Regions from separate parts of the Homo sapiens genome. Here regions 2 and 3 are each linked to region 1. Evidence: promoter capture Hi-C in human tissues and cell types (Jung and others, 2019). All regions are on one chromosome and are shown on one strand. Each heading gives the region's core, a stretch centred on a gene start or on the middle of the fragment in contact. The rest is flanking DNA. Distances are from core to core; before and after follow the strand shown. Region 1 holds the start of LRGUK (leucine rich repeats and guanylate kinase domain containing). Region 2 has its middle 44 kb from the start of SLC35B4. Region 3 overlaps EXOC4 (exocyst complex component 4).

Region 1 (2,569 bases), core at 70-2,569:
AAAACGATCGAGATTTGCATTTTTACACTTTCTGCCTGATTCTTCCCTATGTCACTTAGCCGAAGCCAGGCCCTACGAGGGTAAGGGTGGGGAAAATTCCCTTGGAGGAATCTCTACTTATTGGAAAAAGAAATAAGCAAAAAGCAAGATGAGCCTGGCAGAAAGAGATATTTTGCTTGTGGCCTTTACATTTATGACTAGCAAGATAATGAAGGAAGGTAATTCTGAAAGCTTTATGTCAGTTTTAACGGTCCCTCAAGCACTGAGAAAGATAATCGTCAATGGATGGTGTCCATAAGGATTTTTTCTCCTTCTCCCCTGACAGCCATTGACAGGATCATTTTGTATTTGCAACTGCTGTCATTGAAGCGTGCAGAAAAGGCCCTGTAAGGCCAGAAGGATGAGGGCTACTTCCCTGCAAGGATCTCTATTGTCATCACTATGGCAATAATAGTTACTATAATTTTCATTCTGCTTTTCTATAGAGTGTCGACGTTGTGGAGCTTAAGGCTATGGGATTTGGGTCACATAAAATCACACTAGCATAAAATCGTGCTTTGTTATCTTGAAAGAGTATTTTTTTTAACTGCAAAGAGAGCCTGTGCAACAAGATTAAAATAATTGCCAATGCAGGTCACTTGACTAATATAATTATTTATGGGATGCTAATAGCTTTTCAGACGCTTTCAGATACAGTGTCAATTTGACAGCAGTTTTTTCTCTCTCTGTTTGGATTGTAAGACCACTGCCAGTTTTTCTCCCCAAGGACAAGGCTTATCATTGGGGGGTGGGGGTGGGGAATGTAAATTAATTGGAAATCAGCTCTCAGGCGTCGTCTGGTAGTTTCTCTTTATTATCTGCAATTAAATCATAAGGACAGGAACCATGCCTTCTATTTCACTTATATGCACCCTCATCTCCTAGCGTCGCGCTTTGCATAAATTTCAGTGGTACTAGCTTTCCTACAGACTGCTTTAGAGACATTAGACACTTCTAAAGTACGACTCTGCGGAAAGAGCCCTTTGGGAATGAAGCGGCAACGGTGGCGCACCTGCGATCCTATCGTGGGATGACAAAGCTCTAAGAGGGGTCTCAGGGTAGGGAGGAAACAGCTGGAGACAAAGAAAGGGGGTGTAGCGAAAAGAGGTGAAAACAGGAAAGATAAGCGAACAGAACAGACCAAAGAGAGAAAAATAACAGAAGAGACTGAGAAAAAGAAAAGTCAAGTGGAGCGCCCACTGCCCCGCCTGCAGAAGGCGAGTACGCGCGGAGGAGACTACAGGCCCCAGAATCCTCCGCGGTTCCCCTTGCCTGGGGTCAGTCTCCTAGGCAACCCCGCTAAACAAGATGGCGACCTCCGAGAGGGCTCTCCTGAGGACCAGAGCTGCCTCTCTCCTGAGAGGCTTGGGCAGATCCCGAACTGGAGCCCGATCGTTACAGTTTCGCGCAGAAAAAGAGCGTCAGCCTTGCTGGTCTTTTCCCATGGGGCAGAAGACGAAAGGCAGCTCTAACATAGCCTCCTCCTACCTGCTCCAGCAGCTCATGCACCGCTATCAGGAGCTGGACTCGGACGGAGATGAGGACCAGGGCGAGGGCGAGGCGGGATCCGAGGAGTCCTCAGAGTCCGAAATGCTGAATTTGGAGGTGTGTCTTCCCCCCCACCCCGTACTCCCTGGCTCCCTCGTCCAGCCCTGTTACTTCAGCGGCAGCTCCCCGATGCACCCCCACCAGCCCGAAGCTTCCCACACCTTCTCAGGCTCTCTCGCCTCCAGGAACGCCTCTTCCCCCTCTTTTCTTCCCCTGTCTTTTACCCCGTTTTCTCACCCCCTGCCTGAAATAGCTCTAAATAGTTCCTTTCTTTTTTCATTAACACATTTGATTTCTTATGAGTCGAGTTAACACAGCGTCACTTTGTAAGAGTGTCTAGATAATTGTCTGGGAATTATGGCTTTAGCTTTTTCAAAATTATACTTTGACAGTATTGTGAATAGGCAGAGTTCATCTCTGACATTGCCAGCACCTGTTGCCCATGGCTATGACATACTTCCACACTCTTCCTCAGTTCTAGTCCCGTCAGCCTCCCTCCAGGAAAAAAAAAAAAAAAAAAATCCGCTTTTGAAAGTGCTTCTTCAAAGACTAAGTGACTTAAAAGTTGAATACATTACTTCTGTCGGGGGCATATGCCTTATACAAGCAACATGCACACACACCAGAAAAGAGCCTTATAATGTTCGAACAGCCAGCTCATTGTGGGAATATTTTAGGATGTGGGGAATGTTCCCATCATCCCACCCATATTGACTGGGATGGCGGCTTCGCGTTTCACATGACTGCCATTCCCTCCTTTCTACAATATCTCTTCTGACCACCACACAATTCCTCTTCTTTCTTATGCTTATTATGGTCCTTTTCCTTTCTTAGTCCATTGTTGTCTTCTTGTCCTTTTCCACTTCTCATCACATCACTTCTTTTCTCTTGGCTTCTAATAAATTGCTTTCTTTCAAAAGCGTAATTTAATTTGCTTCCTTTCTATTTTGTTTATGTTTTTGAGATGGAGTCTGGCTTTGTC
Region 2 (5,020 bases), core at 1,387-3,886, 230 kb after region 1:
CGCCATCTCAAAACAAAAAACAAAACAAAACAAAACAAAACAAAAAAACAGCAAGTATAAAGATGGATACAAACTGGGGAAATTGGATAAAGAGGCAAGGACGGGGAGGGATTCTACTCAGGGAGAGTAGCGTGATCAAAAACACAGAGATTGGAACTATTATGCTGAATTTCAGGTTGGAGGTGTACAGTAAGGAGACAAGAGGAGATTTGGCGTTTCTCACGTTCTCATAAATTCTGCACAAGTAGACAATGTACAGGGACACTGCCTGACCCAAGGGTGTGGCCTTGTACGACATGACCCCTATATCTAGGCTTTAGAAATCCTTAGCTTTTCCAGTTACACAGAAAAGTGCTTTTTTTTGTGGTTGCCCAAGGAGAATGCTATAGTCATTCTAGAAATGGTTGTCAAGGCCTCCACTAAGGGTGGGGGGTGGGCTGATGGTCTGTGGATTCTGCAGGAGCTGCACTGGGAGTATAGATATCTCCAGTCCTGATAACTGAGCAACTATATTTGTCTACTCCTGTCTTCACTGGTTGGTCAGGGACCAACCGGATGGTTCCTGATTCCCCTCAGTGGAAACCCAAAGGGGTCATTGGGAAAATCCTGGGGTATACACAGTGGATATCCCGTAACTTCAAACAGAATCATGAATTCATGCCGCTTGAGGGTTTGATTGACGGAAAGTGACTAATATCACCTACAGGGTAGTTCTGGGCTCTGCAGCATTCTCTGAGTAAAAGACAGCATGCACCATACACCATGCACTAAAGGTCCTTGTGCATTGCTCACTGCTTTGCAAAGACTTCTGCTTCCCAGAGACATTGGGCATGGCTAGGGTGGATGGTTTTCCTTTACTGTCTCCCCTGTGCCAGCAGGCTAGCTGAGGCAATGTGACCTAAACAGTTATTGCTGTGTGATGCTTGCTGTTCATAACTGGAACTAACCCCAACCTTGGACTCATCACCCTGTGTTCTAAAGACATGAGATCACTCACTTAGAGGGAAATGTTAAATAAATGCACTCATGCATGTGTGCACCCACCTGTACACATGCACACAAAGAGACCTTGGAAAGCCACAGATAAATGGACTAAGATAAGTAAAGTAGCTTTGTTTGAACTTAGCACAGCTGGCAGGTTCTAGGCATGGCGGATAAGCAGGGACAGCCAGAAGGACTTGGCAATCTTCTTATCCCTCCTCCAAGGTGCAGCCCCTTTCTCTTATCTTTTTTCCACAGAAAGCCAAGAGGGCTTCAGAGGAGGTCCCTCCTGCCCAGAACATTTCAGACTTTTAAATGATGCCTTCTTGGTGAGCTAAAGAGGTGGCCACATGTGCTGCCAGCTGTCTCTGGTCCTAGTAAATCCAGTCTGAGCCTGGGGTGATCAAGGCCACGTGCAACAAAACCTCAGCTAATATGTCGTGACCTGGCATAGTCCTGGCAAACAGACCTTTGGGCCTGTGTGGGTCACTGGCAGAGGGTCTTGGCGAGCTGGGGCCTCTGCTGACCTTGGCCGCTGTTTGGTCTAAGAGAGCTGAGAGCCCCAGGCTTGTAGGTTTTTTTCCTTTATTGTGGTAAAATATATATAACATAAAATTCACCATTTTAGCCATTTTCAGCATACAATTTAGTAGCATTAGGTACATTCACAATGCTGTGCAGTTATCATCACTATCCATTTCCAGAGCTATTTTCATCTTCTCAAACTGAAATTCTGCTCCTATTAAGCAGAAACTCCCCTCATTCCTGCTTCCCCACAACCCCGGGAAACTCCATTGTACTTTCTGTCTCTTAAGGGTTTGCCTATTCTGAGGATGCCATATGAATGGTATCATGCAATATTTGTCTGTTTGTGATTGGCTTATTTCATTTAGCATAACATCTTCAAGTTTCATCCATGTTGTAGCATGTGTCAGAATGTCATTACTTACTGAGGCTGAATCCTCTTCCATTGTTTGTATATATCACATTTTGTTTATCCATTCTTCTATTAATGGACATTTGGTTTTTTCCCACCTTTTAGCTAATGTGAATAACGCTGTACAAGTATCTATTTGATCCCCTGCTTTCAATTCTTTGGGGTCCATACAGGACTGCTTGATCATATGGTAATTTTAGGTCTCACTTTTTTGAGAAACGGATACAGTGTTTTCCATCTGCAGAGGCTGCAACATTTTACATTCTCACAAGCAATATATGAGGATTTCAATTTCTCTACATCCTTGCCAACATTTATTTTCTGTTGTTGTTTTTCTAATAACTGTCCTAAGTGTGTGAGGTTTGTGGGTTTTTATTCTTTCCCCCTTGTCTCTTTCTCAGTGTCTCAGATTTCAGGAGAACTGTGACCCATGCAGGGGGTTTGAGTCCCGGTGAAAGTGGAGACCCTGTCATCCTGAGAATCATCCCCAGGGGGAAACCATCTTTTTCTAAGGCGGAATTTCTCAACGGTGGAACTACTGACATTTTGGACCAGGTACTTCTTTCTCGTCCTGTGCACTGTAGCAGCGGTCCCCAACCTTTTTGGCACCAGGGATCAGTTTTGGGGAAGACAATTTTTCCGTGGACCAGTGGGGCGGGATGGTTTTGGGATGATTCAAGCGCACTGCATTTATTGTACACTTTCTTTGTATTGTTATTACATTGTCATGTATAATGAAATAATTATACAACTCACCACAATGTAGAATCAGTGGGAGCCCTAAGCTTGTTTTCCTGCAACTAGATGGTCCCATCCGGGGGTGATTGGGAGACGGTGATAGATCATCAGGCATTAGAGTCTCATAAGGAGCGTGCAGCCTAGATCCCTTGCATGTGCAGTTCATAACCGCGTTCATGATCCTGTGAGAATATGAGAATCTAATGCCACGGCTGATCTGATAGGAGATGGAGCTCAGGCAGTAATGCAAGTGATGGGGAGTGGCTGCAAATACAGATGAAGCTTCGCAGCCTCGCCCACTGCTCACCTCCTGCTATGTGGCCCAGTTCTGGTCCATAGCCTGTTAGGTACCATGGTACCTGAGGACCCCTGCACTGTAAGATGTTTAGCAGCATCACTGGCCTCTACACACCAGATGCACACCTGCCCAGTCATGATAATCAAACGTGTCTCCAGACATTGCCAAATGCCATACCAGCCCCCAGCTGAGGACCACTGTTCTAAGTCCTGACTAGCTAGAGTCAGCTCAGCATATCAAGAGGAAGGGGCTGTCCCAGATCCCGGGAGCTAAGCTTTATGTGCTCCAGTTCCAATTTCCTCAGCATCTCAGTTTAGTTTAGTGTCTTCCCTCCATCATCTAAAAGTTGAGTTCAAATAGAGCTAATTTGTTGCCAGGGCACAGAAGACTGGAGTAAATGTTTGTGCAGTACCAGTAGGGGGGCACTGTTGATCAAGAAAGGCTCAAGATGGAAGGGGTGTGTATGTGTACATGTATGTGTGTGTGTGTGTGTGTGTGTGTTTGCGGGCTTGAGAGGGGAAGCTTTAAATGAGCAGTTGGTGCTCAAAACACTCAGGTTCTTATACCTTAAAACTACTGATAATCCAACACCAGCCTCACCCCATCCATGCTCCCCATACTGGCATCAACCACACTCTTTTCATGGTACAGGCTGTCTTTCTGTGACATCTGCCTCCCTTCAAGGCTGATCTTGAAGCCCACAGTGAAATTTCACCAATGGAATAGAAATGCTCAATCTAAAATACCTCAGGAGCATTTTCCCTCAACCCTACCAAGTCTACAGACCTCCTAGATATACAGCCCCGACCACACTGTCTGATTTCGAAGGACGGTAGCACCAGATGTTCCACATCTGTCTGCAGCCATGTGCTTTACTGACAATCAGGATCCATTTCCACCTCCTGCTGATCTCCCCTCAACATTGCAAGAGAGGAGAAGCCCCAAACTGCCCTCCCATATTTCTTAGAGTCGGGATCCTGGTACAGTTGAGATGGTGCCATTGAGCTGAATTTGCTGGAGCAATAGAGAAGCAGGCAGAGGCCATCTGCCTACACTGTGGCTGTTGGAAGCAAGGTCAGTCAGTGACGAATGTTTGTGGTGGCTCAACTCCATGTCTAGGTGTCTGGTCCTCACTTCAGTGGTGTGAGGCAATTGCGTGGTGCCTCACACGATTGTGTGATGTAATAACAGTTCCCTGAGTTATGGATCACAGCTAGGGTAATTTGATCTAGAAACCAATCATCCAAAGGTGACCGCTTTGCTTCTGCTTGCCCAGTGATTATAGGGGTGCCTGATTCCCTATCTTCAATCACTTTCAGCTAGAGTCCTTCTATTTCTTGCATCAGCCCCTGGCTGACGCAATACTGTTTGCTCACACACACATACACACATCCTAACATGGCCCAATCTCCCTTCTCATGCTGCTTATTCAAATTTGGGAATTAGTTATTGATCTGAGGGGTAGAATAGGCTAAGTGCTGCCGGGAGTTGACATCCAAAAGACTCTGTATTGATCTTGTCTCAGGAAAATAGACTCTGACATTCAGGGACAACACCCACAGAACAATACAAAGTCAATAAGTGAATAAATAGTTGCTAAGTTGTGCTGTGTTGAATACCACCAATGGCTCTAGGCAGTCAAAAGGTATGGGATCGATGGAGTTACTTCATTCATACAGGTTTGACCTAGTCTTGAAGGACAGGTCAACCCTGGGTAGGTGAGGAGAAAGGAAGTGGTAGGCAGGTATGAGAAGGGGCAGAGGCAGAGAGTGCTGTCTGTAAGGGTCAAAATCCTGGATTGATGTCCTCACTCTGCCACCTCTTCTAGTGGGGTCAATGATTTGACCTCTGAGAACCCCATTTACTGCATTTGAAAAACATGAAAATCCTGCGGGGTCATTGTGATGATCAAATGAGATTTAAAAAAATCTATCTGAACCTATACACCTGCATCTATCTCTACCTATAGAGATAAATATCTATTCTCTGGATATCATAATATGCTGCACAGATAGAGACTAGATCTTCTCTGTTTGCCCCTGGAGACCCAGTGCCTCACTTCTGGG
Region 3 (5,020 bases), core at 1,482-3,981, 150 kb before region 1:
TATAACATTTGAACTATAAAATGCTAAGTAATTTTAACAAAAAATAATAGCAAACATTCAATGACAAGGTATATTCTAAAATGCGTGTGCACACACACACACACACACACACACGCTATTCACTTTCACCATAACCCAAGAAGTAGATATCATAATCTTCATTTTTACAAATTGGGAAACTGAGTCACAGGTAGAGTAAAATAACTCAAACAAGGACACACAGCTATTAAATGGTGAAGCCAAAATTTGAACCTATTTAGTATGCCTTCACAGCCTGTGCTTTTAACCACCACACTATTGTGTAGCATTCAGAGAACTCTCTGATGAGGTCACGTAGAAGAAGATGTATTTTAAAAATGAAAGAAAAGCCCTGCAGTCAATCACAGATGAGTGCATATAGCAAGCACACAAAATGTCCGGGGGGCCTGCAGGTACAGTGTTGGAGACACTAAAGCCTAGAATGACTTAATGGTCATCAGAGATGTTAAGGACCACAAAATGCAGTGTGTGGCTATGTTTAGGCACAAAGAGAACATCAAACAGATAGGTCCACAGATTGGTGAAGTAGTGAATATAATGTTAAGAAAAAGCAGAACCACTCTAACCTCTCTTTTGTTTCTGTCTTATTTAGAAAGGGGCCTGCTCTTCAAATGTAAGGATAAGACAAGTTGTGATAAGAAACAGCTGTGAGGAAAGCGTCAGATGGCATCTGGCTTCTTTAGAGTAGAACTTAAACAGATCAAATCCAAGGGTGTTAAGGAAATTTGCTGAATTTGAGAAATTGTGGAGCATGTAAAAGGTGACAGAATACCCAGATTACAGCAGATATTCCTATTCTCAAAACAGAGTGAAGAAGAAATTCTAGAAACTACAGATTAATGTTAGATAGTGAACCAATATGATAGTTAGCACATGGAAAAGAATATGATGAGTGCCAGGAGCCAACATGGTTCACAAGAGGGAGAAAAACTATCATAGGTGCCCAAGGACTACTGAAAGAAAATGAACAGGCCTTACCATGGAAGAAACACGGGCACTATGCATATGTCCTTGTAGTTACCAGTCAGAGACCAAGTCTTGCCACAGTCTCAAATACCTTTGTTTGGTTTACAAATTGGTATGAATATGTATTTTTTTAACTTAGCTCTTATGTCCTAACAAATCAAGGTTTACCAGTATCAGCCCACTGTTTCTCTGAAAATCAAATTTGACTTAATCCAGCAAGGGAACATGCAAAACTTTAAGTTTCACTTTTTAAAAGTGAATGTTCTGATGAATGAGCCTTAGAACAAAGAGAGCTAAGCTTTTCTGCCTTGATAGGTGGTTCCTTCTCAATTTCATACCTTTAACCTAATTGCCAAAGGCTTGCTTGAGGCTTGGTGGTCTAACCTGTGGAGCCCAGAAATTGTAACACACTGAGTGTGCTCATGGGCATGGACTTTGTTTGGAAGATACATTCAGTCTTAAGCTGAAGCTTTTACAGAATAATTGAAAGCAGCTCCAAATTGAGTGACCTTGCTAAGAAGTCTGTTTTGGTGGGGTCTACATCTTTAACCTGGGATTCTAGAAAATAGTAGAGAAACCCATGGCATACTTTTCTAAAAAGTTAAAAAGTAAAATAGTCCTGTGAAACATTTTCTGAAAGGAATGTTGAATCTTCTTTGCAAGGGCATCTTGTGTGTGTTATTGAGAATAAGAGCAATTCATAATGTGTTCAGTATTCACTAAATCCAAAAAAAAAGATACTAGAGTTTATGTAGCAAAAATAATGAAGAGAAAGGAGAAAGCAAATCACTTGCTTCCAAATAAATATTATTTATATAGATTGTCCTCCCACTCGTCCTCAGCCTATAGGAACGGTGCCATAATTTGAATGTTTGACTTCTATCCCTGCCTTGGCTCACAGCTAGAGAGTGGAGTGCAGTAGGAACTTGTTTGCTGTGACCAAATCTTTCCTTTTCAAAGATAGTGGTTTGCGAGCAGCTGGTTTTTTCTTTGCTTTGGGTTGGTTTGTTTTGTTGTTGTGGTTTATTTGTTTGTTTTTGTGTGTGTGGTTTTTTGTTTGAGTTGGTTTTGTTGTTTTGTGTGTGTGTGTGTGTGTGTGTGTGTGTTTGTTTGTTTTAGCAGCAGAACCCTTTCTTCTAGCAGAATTTTACTGTAAAGTCTGAATTGGGTAACAAATCAAAGTGGAGCCTCTCTGACTAAGGAAGCAGGGAAGGCAAGATGGAGAGAATGGAGACTGAAAAATGTTAAATTGAATTAAGTTTGGCCCAAAGCTGCCTCTGTACATGTTTTAAGTTTGACCAAAAGGTTTCTTTGTACATAGTGAACTGTAACCTAACTTGATGTGCAAACAGACTAGAACTTACTCTTGTAACAGGTAGCTGAGTCTCAGCCAGTCACAGCAGCCAAGCTTCAGTCAGTGATAGGCAGCCAACTCTTCAACCCAGGTTCAAATGAGGCAAACACTGAGCTTTAACCAAGTATGCATCCTTTGTACATCCCTCCCGTTACATGTCACTTCCTTTTCTCTGGCTATAAATATAATCTACACATGTGGTAGAGCAGAGCATTCTGAACCATTTTTGGTCTGGGCTGCTGCACTATTCTAGAATCACAAATAAAAGCCAGTTGAGATCTACGTTTGTTGTAATTTGGTCTTTTAACAGAGATTAGGAACTCTGCAGGGCACTTTCCAAAAATCCTTGCCTTAGAGGTTGCAGCATTGCATTAAAGGTAGCCCAGAGATCCTTGGTGACCCTTCATCTCACTACTTCCTGGTCCAGTCTTCTCTGAGATTTAAAGTGCCATAGTTCAAAAATGTCTCAGGAGTAGAAGGTTACATTCATTCATCAAGGCTCAGTTGGGAGAACAGAAACCATTTTAGGTATTTCAAGCAAGAAGGAATTTAATGTAGGGAATACGATGTTTTAGAAATTGCTGAAAGGGCTTAGACAGCCGTTGGAAGGATACAAAAAGCAAGGAATCTAGCTGCTGCCTTTCAGGATAATCAGGAAATGCAGCCGGGGATTTCACCTTCCTGCTGCGAGGAAGCAGCTGTCTGCAGGAGCTCTTCTGGAAGCTGCTGCAAGCTTCTGATTTGCCAGCTGCCTGAGCATCTTTCTGCCACTGTAAGAAGAGAATCCTGCCTTCCCTTTCTTTTTGCCTTACACAGCTTTTGGGAGTACATCTCAATGGCAGAATCCAAACCCAAAACCCCTACTGGCAAGAAGTTGTAGATGTTCCTATGCTTCCAGGAAAGTGGCTAGAGGTGACACTGAGTTGACAACAGACAAAGCACAAGGGTATGTTCCCATTTCACTCTGTACAGTAAATTTAGTCTAGAGTAATAGGAAGGTGAACGTATTTCCAAGAAAGCAGATAAAATAACAAGTCTCCTGTGGTAGTAAATATAAAAAGCATCTTTCCAAAATAATCCTGATTCAGCTGTTTTAAGCCTTAGTGGAAAACCTGATTTGTCAGTGTTTTTATGTATATATTAAAATAATTTATAATCCAATTTCTGTCTCTTCAGGTGAATATAACACAATTTCTATCATTTGAGGTCAAAACTTCATAGGTATCATAATGGCTGTTTAGATTCAGAATCATTACTGTCTTACCTTTACCACCAGGTAAAGGTAATCACACTTGAGTGTGATTACACTCAAGTAATCTTCTTCCCTTCTCATAGTGCCTCTTTGGTAGAAAGGAAATAAACGGCGGTCAGGAAATAAATGCTGACTCCAGGCCCTGTTTGAGTAAGGCAGACATGATCTCTCAATCACATGAACAATTTACAGGCTTTGGTGAATATTCTTTGAATTCCTAAAATAACCCCTAAGTTGCGGCTGGGTGCGGTGGCTCACGCCTGTAATCCCAGCACTTTGGGAGGCCCAGGCAGGTGGATCACAAGGTCAAGAGATCGAGATCATCCTGGCTAACATGGCAAAACCCTGTCTCTACCAAAAATACAAAAAAATTAGCCGGGCATGGTGGCGGGCGCCTGTAGTCCCAGCTACTCGGGAGGCTGAGGCAGGAGAATGGCGTGAACCTGGGAGGCGGAGCTTGCAGTGAGCCGAGATCGCACCACTGCACTCCAGCCTGGGCGACAGAGCGAGACTCCATCTCAAAAAAAAAGAAAAAAAAACCCTAAATTGCCTTCGTTAAAGAACCTAGCTTGGCAGACATCCTTTCCTTGGAAAGGGAGATGCCTGTCATTCTTCAAAATAATGTTAAAAACACTGATTTATCTCCTCCCACGCTGCTCCTCAACATCATTCCTGGCTTTCCTACCAATCTACCACCTACCTCATGCCTGAAGGCCATCTCTACCACTGAACTGGCGACTGGAGAAAGGCATTCTCCCCTTTTTATGTATGAAAAGATAAAATTTGAACCTGCCCTCTGCCTTAATCCCTTTTCTCTCCTGCGTATTTTCACTAATTTAAACATTGCCAGAATCCTGTGCTGTTCTCATACTTCTATGATGCCTTATTTTAAGTTCAAAATGTCATGATCTTACCCAGTGTGTATGTTTAATGGATTAATGTATCATTTTCTTTCTGGCCATTAGCCACATGAACAACTAGGCCCACAGCTGTCAGATTTCTTGCAAGGTTTTTCGAGGAGTGAGAGGATGAGTCTAGGAATCTCACTCTTCCAGGATCCTCACCAGGGGGTTCAATAAAGATCACTTCAATGTGCTGAGCACTTACTGTGTGCCGAAGGTTGTTCTAAATGCTTCATGTGTTTTATATCATTGAATCCTTACAATGACCCTTTGAGGCTGAAAATGTAGTCACTTCAATAAACAGGTTTAACGATTTCCCCAAGGTTATCCAGTTAGTAAGTGGTTGAATCATAATGTAACTACTACTTTCTGGGCCAATCAAAAAGAAATGGTTGTCAATCCAAAAGAAGTGTTGTATGTAAGAATTTGGTTCTTAGTTAATAGGAGAATACTCATATCCTTTTACTTAGCGAAAAATATTTAGATTTTGAAGTAATATCCTGAAAT

What was found. The method cuts DNA at HindIII sites, captures the fragments that hold promoters and counts their contacts. A contact is called where the count stands out against the background at its distance.
Region 2: a contact is called between a fragment that was not itself captured here and the fragment with the promoter of LRGUK in region 1, in 1 of the 25 tissues and cell types used here (H1 embryonic stem cells).
Region 3: a contact is called between a fragment that was not itself captured here and the fragment with the promoter of LRGUK in region 1, in 2 of the 25 tissues and cell types used here (H1 embryonic stem cells and dorsolateral prefrontal cortex).

Annotation. Positions count from the first base shown.
Region 1 is chr7:134,126,021-134,128,589 of GRCh38, forward strand. It overlaps LRGUK (leucine rich repeats and guanylate kinase domain containing), which reads left to right and starts at 1,320. Exons shown (of 20, transcript NM_144648.3): 1 at 1,320-1,644. The coding sequence starts at 1,348. RefSeq lists enhancers at 1,173-1,222, 1,333-1,602. The HindIII fragment of the contact is 8,230 bases long and covers 1-2,569 here.
Region 2 is chr7:134,358,799-134,363,818 of GRCh38, forward strand. No RefSeq gene overlaps it. Among named protein-coding and RNA genes, the nearest start is that of SLC35B4, 44 kb to the left of the region's middle. The HindIII fragment of the contact is 4,550 bases long and covers 362-4,911 here.
Region 3 is chr7:133,975,657-133,980,676 of GRCh38, forward strand. The region is part of intron 14 of EXOC4 (exocyst complex component 4); the gene reads left to right. Among named protein-coding and RNA genes, the nearest start is that of LRGUK, 150 kb to the right of the region's middle. The HindIII fragment of the contact is 5,052 bases long and covers 206-5,020 here.